Regions from separate parts of the Homo sapiens genome. Here region 1 is linked to region 2. Evidence: promoter capture Hi-C in human tissues and cell types (Jung and others, 2019). All regions are on one chromosome and are shown on one strand. Each heading gives the region's core, a stretch centred on a gene start or on the middle of the fragment in contact. The rest is flanking DNA. Distances are from core to core; before and after follow the strand shown.

The links. The method cuts DNA at HindIII sites, captures the fragments that hold promoters and counts their contacts. A contact is called where the count stands out against the background at its distance.
Region 1: a contact is called between a fragment that was not itself captured here and the fragment with the promoter of GRID2 in region 2, in 1 of the 25 tissues and cell types used here (dorsolateral prefrontal cortex).

What each region holds. Positions count from the first base shown.
Region 1 is chr4:93,181,806-93,184,940 of GRCh38, reverse strand. The region is part of intron 4 of GRID2 (glutamate ionotropic receptor delta type subunit 2); the gene reads right to left. Among named protein-coding and RNA genes, the nearest start is that of ATOH1, 650 kb to the left of the region's middle. The HindIII fragment of the contact is 5,008 bases long and covers 1-3,135 here.
Region 2 is chr4:92,302,599-92,305,737 of GRCh38, reverse strand. It overlaps GRID2 (glutamate ionotropic receptor delta type subunit 2), which reads right to left and starts at 1,772. Exons shown (of 16, transcript NM_001510.4): 1 at 994-1,772. The coding sequence starts at 1,081. RefSeq lists a silencer at 1-240. The HindIII fragment of the contact is 11,112 bases long and covers 1-2,523 here.

The DNA of each region.
Region 1 (3,135 bases), core at 312-2,811, 880 kb before region 2:
AACTACAAATAAGTACCTGGGAGAGTGGATATTGTTATTTTGTTTTTTGTGTTTTTTTTCAGACAGAGTCTTGCTCTGTTGCCCAGGCTGGAGTGCAGAGGTGCAATCTTGGCTGACCACAACTTCTGCCTCTAGGGTTCAAGTGATTCTCCTGTCTCAGCCTCCTGAGTATCTGCGATTACAGGCACACGCCACCACGCCCAGCTAATTTTTGTATTTTTTGTAGAGATGGGGTTTCACTGTGTTGGCCAGGCTGGTCTCGAACTCCTGACCTCTTGATCCGCCCACCTTGGACTCCCAAAGTGCTGGGATTACAGGCGTGAGCCACTGCACCCGGCCAGAGACCTGATATTTTTAAGAACTTGTTCAGCTGTAGGGACTTGAGAAATATATGAAAGAGTACCTGTGAGTTTTTTTTTTTTTTTTTTTTTTTGAGAAATAATATGGCTAAAGTGAACTAATCCTGTTGGTTGCAGAGGAGAGGAGCAGAATGATCACTTACATGAAGAAAGATAATGCATATACAAAATTAGAGCCAAAAGAAGCAGGCACTTCAAAACCTTGACTGAATGTACACGGACACAGGCAGTAAATACACCACTTAAGTAAAGCTAAGTGGCACTGTTCACCACTCCCCTTTCGTTGTTAAAATGTGTGCCTTCATGCATAGCTAGAGCCAAGCAAAGCCATTCTACATCATTTATTTGGCAACTAAATGTGCTGAGCTGATTTTTGCCACTCTACTGGAACCTGCCTTTCTTGTTCCTGACTACACATTTCTGTTTAACAGTTTTTCCCATCTGGAATACATTTACTTCTTTCCTTTATCCAAGCTACAAACCATTTTCTTTCAATGAAGATCTGTGTTGAACTTTTACTGGGAAGGCTTCACTTCCTCATCCACAGTTACTGCTCCTTTTCTAATCGCCCTACAGCAAATAATGTGCATCATTCATTTAGGCATTTATTGTATTCCTCTAAGACTTGCTGCTGATTTTTTATATAAGAACTGATATAGTGTAAGGTACAGTGGACACTTAAAAATCAGTTTTGATTTTAAATTTTACCTCCCTTGTTTCTTACCTGATGAGTTTGAACAAGTTCTCAGCATCTCTCAAACTATTGTTTCCTTATTTGTAATCTGGGAATGAAGCCAACTTCCCTGAGTGGTAACATGGATTTACTGATATAGTTTATTTCTCCTGCTCTATTCAGTGCCTGGCACATGATGGTATGAGAAAAATGTGTGGCCCTTTTCCTTTTCTTTACTTTTAATTCCAGGCCACATTATAGAATCCTGGAGAACAGAATTGCCCTACATTGCCTTGTATCCTGTTCAATGTCTGGCAGTAATTAAGTACCTTGTGGGCACTTACTAAGTAGTTGTTTGAATGAATGTATCAGTTGGGTGCCATGAAGAATCCCTAATGGACCCTCTATTGAGTGCTGTTAGTAGCTACAGGGACTCTTTAGATGTAGTAGAACAAATTCATCACACGTGAAACATCTATTGATTGAGGGTCAATGCTATCATTTTTGAGTATTGAAGAAAACATGGTTATGTCTTTACAGGGGGATAATAAAATCATTATTTTAAACTCATGACATTCTGTTTAGTATTATCTTCAATTTAATAAGCTTGACAGACATGGATAAAAGGTAAAAAGACTGTCAAACATTTTGTGAAGTTAGAGTTTTTTAAAAAATTTTACCCAAATGGATCACCTCATTTTTTTTTAATTAGTAAACTGGAAATCAGTGAAAATTGAGATATTATGTGTTTATGTAGTTCTGCCTCAGGCAACTAAATTTTAGGAATTTCTGGTTCCTTATATCAGGCACCTGATTTACTTTATTTTACTCATTTTGATTTAATTCTGCTCAGTTGATGAATAAAAGAACCTGTGAATGCCAGATATTATCCTAAGGCCAGTATAGTCTTTCTCAAACTTTATACTGCATCAGAAACACCTGCGGGGCTTCGCAAACATAAATTGTAGGGCGCCACTCCCAGAACTTCTGATTCAGTAGGTCTGGGCTGGTGCCCAAGAATTTGCTTTCTAACACTTTGCCAGGTGATGCTGATTCAGGGAACACACTCTGAAAACTACTGCACTGGAGAAGAAAAAGACAAAATCAAGGTTCCTTCTCTAGAGAGGATTAGAGTTTTTATTAGGCTTTGGCAACAATTCTAAAGTGATAAATTGTTTATAAGGACGGTGATGTCTGGGTGTAGAATCTTGAAGTTTCTGATAATTCAAATATTTGAAGATCCAGATTTGAGCAGCCATGTCTTCAGAACAATAAGGAAACTTGAAAAATATGCCTGTAGGCATGTTTTAAAAACTATTTTGACTTCTGATAATGTAGCATTATCTTTAAACCACTATTTCTACATAACTGAAGTAGAGAGAAAGTTAAATCTAATATTAATTAGGAGTTGCCTATATGACTATTTTTGATCACTCTCTTCTAATTTGATCAGTTATACATTTGAATTGATAATGCAGTCTATTTTAAAGATAATAGAATATAGTTTGCCTAAGTAAGAATCTTTTCACACATAAAAATCACACATTTAGAGTTCTAAATTCATTTTTTTAAGTTAATGGAGTATGTATAGAGGTATAACATCATTAGATATTTTCAGAAAAAAAGCTGTTAAAGTGATCTACACAATGAGTTCAACTAAAAAATAGATTTTGACAATTTAAGAGGAAATTAAATAGGCCTGCATGAGGTAGTTTAAGGAATCTACCATTTAGATTAGATTTGGAGAAGACCATTATCAGATATACTTCATTTTAAACACTAAAAATGTAATTTTTACATTGAAGTTTAAAGGGAACTGGAAGTATTTCAATGCCATTTGAATTCCAATGTGACAGGCCAAATAGAAAGCTTATTTTGGTAAGAAGTTTCTTAAACACTTGTGAAATTTATTAAATCCTTTTTTTCTAAGCCTACTTCTTGATAATCTCATGGACTACCATATTTTGTAAATATTGGAAATAATTCTATTCTTACAAAGGATTTTTATTAAGATAAACTAGGGTTTGTTACACTATATTTTAAAATCAATTCATTAATTCACCAGCTACTATGAGGAATCTTTACATCTTCAGGTACTAGTCT
Region 2 (3,139 bases), core at 523-3,022:
AGCGCTGTGCATGATAATGACGCGCAGCCCCCCGCCCGCCCCTGCTCGCCGCGGCCAGTCCCGGCCCGTCTGGTTGCCAATAGGTGGGGCCACCAGCATCTCGGAGCCCGCTCGGCAGTCCTTCTCAGAGTCGCGGCCCGCAGTAGTCCCGGCGCCTTCGCTGTCTGCCTTGCGCGGCTACTCGGAGTTGACTGCGAGGCGAGGCGAGGCGAGGCAAGGCGGATATCTGCTAAGCAGACCTCGGGAGCAGCCTGCGCGCATTCGCTTCCCCGCGTTTCCCAAGCGCCCCGGGGTCAGTTTCGCCGCCGCGCCAGGCCCCGGGAGCGTGTCCGAGGAGGCGAGGCACGCGACAATCAGTCCTTGGCGACACTGCCGCCAGCCCCTCCTGCCACCGTCTCAAAGACTACACGCAAGGATCATAAAGCCAAGAAGATGTGAGAAGAGAGGGTGGCTGGGGGCGCATCCGGCACCCCCGTCACCATCGCACTAAGCTGCGGCGAACTCAGCCGGCTCACGTTGCAAAACCACCTGTTCGATCCGAAGGGAGCTCCCCCTACCCCCCAGCCCAGTTCTTTTCATCTCACAGGTGACAGCTTCTCTGCTCCCCCAAAGATAAATTTTTAAATGGAGCAAATGTACATCCGGGAAAAAAAATATGGAAGATAAGAGTCAATTAAACTCCCTTTCCCCACACACTTAGAATCCCCCTGCAGTTCCCAGCACACACTCACACTCAGGTCAACTCGAGACCCCCACGCATCCAGCCACATTCCACGAATCACTGCAAAACAACAGCACAAGTCAGTCGAGGTTCGAGCATCCACATCCTTTCAGAAAACTGAGCAAGTGTGAGGGAAGGGTAGCGGGAAGGGGCAATGAACTGAAGCCACCTCCAACAAGACACACAGAGACCGGAGAGGGGGAAAGCGAAGGGGAAACATTTGAGAACTGAAACGGTAAAAGTAACCACGAGCTGCACCAACACTTTCTTACCGATGTGAATGATCGAATCCGCATTCGCCGAGTCCCAGGTTCGAGACCACCAGACGGACAAAACCAAGAGAAAGGGGAAAACTTCCATCTCCTCCTATGCCGATTCTCTTGGAGGATGGATTTTCTTCCAATTTTTTTTTTTTCAAACAGTCCAAAGAGTTTGAGGTCACGGTGGAGTTTAGCGCAGCTTTTTCTTTTTTTCTAAATTCCTATTGCCAGAGCAAAGCCTTTTATCGTCGCCGAGAAAGGCAGAAGGGAATGACAGAAAGAGCCCAGCCTGAGGAAACCTCCTTCGCAAAGCCGTGTCACTTGGAGGGGAATTTTGGCATCGCCAGAGTTGTTTGCAGTTTGGCTTTTGAAAAATATATCCAGCCTCTACTGCTCTTGGGCAGGGGGAGAGGCTGGGGCTCAGATCAGACCCATCGCTGCGCGGGGGCCGCGGGTCTCCGGTCCCAGCTCCGCTGCAACTTCCAACACCCCCCTCACGCCGGATGTGCCCCCTTCCCCGCACCCTCTCGGACCAAAAAAGACCCCCGCCCCCGCCCCTACAGCCCGCAGAGAATCACTGGTCTTCGCTGCCAGAATCTAAGTGGAAAGGAAAGATTAGGAGATTCCAAACGGAGCAGCCAGATTCCACCAGGGAGGGGGGAAAAAAGCCCTCTCCAAGAGGGGTAGAAAAAGTGAACTTCAAGGTAATGCAGATAGTAATGCAGAGAAAATTCCCTTTCTGCGTGAGGCGCGGAACGCAGCTTGGCGAGGCGGGCCCGGGGAGCCGGTTTGCTGGGGCGCGGTGGCGGGGGGGTTGCGCCGGGCGCGAGCAGCGGGGCCGGGCCAGAGGAGGGAAGCCGCCGCAGGCTGCAGGATGCTTTTGGAGCGTTTCGCCTGGCGGGATGCAGGAAGCAAGGAGCGAGCCTGGCAGCTTCAGCACCAGCCCCACGTTGCCTAGAAATGGATCACCTAGGAGAAGGAGCGAGCCTGCGAGAGAGCGGTGCTGTCAGGCGGAGAGAGGGGGAAACCAAGAGAGGAAGAGCTTCTCTCTAATAACCACCTCCTCCCCCTATCTGCAATACAAGGGAGAAACAAAATAGTGCTCTCATTTCCCATGGAATCTTCAACCGGGACTGAGAAAAAGGCAGGACTGTAAAAAGACATTGAAGCTTTTTTTTTCCTTTCTTTATTTTACGAGGTTAAATGCAACCTAAAAAAGCCACCCCACTTATTTAACCTTGCTATTCTCTAACAGGTATCAGACTTTTTCTAGTCTTTGCCTGGAATTAGTCACATTGGTTGAAAACAAATTAGGGACACCTGGTCACTTAGGGAAATACAGACCTAGAAAGCTTTTAATGAGATTTCAATTATAAAGTTATAAAAAGGAGAGAACGTGCTAATTACCTTTTATACAATGATTTTTTTTTTCTGTCTCCAGTGTATTTTTTAGGCAATCAGGATAGAGAAAGGTTCCTGAAATCCTTTCTATTGATAGAAATTCTTCTCTATCAGGATAGAAAAGATCTTGAAATTAAAATAAAAAAGCAGAATAATTAAATAAAACAGAAAAATTTTTCATAAACATTTGGTCAAAATATTTCATTGAGTAGCTTAATAACCTATGTAGATAAATTCCGAATGAGGAAGTTGGGTACTCTCTTCCATGGAAAAAGCTGAGGAAGTCCTGAATGACAGCCTCTCAGTCTCCAGTGAAAGGATTTTCTGCAAGCTTATTCCTTAAGATAAAATCCTGATCATTGTGACTTCTTTTCTTATAATGATTGACTTATGTCAATCTGGCCTCATTGCAAACTGAAGATTTGTTAACACAATCGAGTGACTAGTCGAGGTCAGGTATTAATGTCATAATATTGTCTCAGTTATAATTGGAATTCTTTAGGAATGTTGGATGTGTGGATGTCAAGCTCATTACACAACCTTTCAAAGCCTTACCTCCAAGTTTGGCAAACCTCTTTTCCTCCCGTTCCCTCACTTGAGCCCTTCTCTCTAGCCTTCTGAATTGGGTTACTATTTTTCCAGACACAGTTGTACATTCTCACTTCTGGCTGTTTTCATTCATCTTGTACACTTTTTCCTGAACATTCCAGAAAATGTTTTGCTGCCATATTTTTACTTATGTTAATATTTCTGCTTG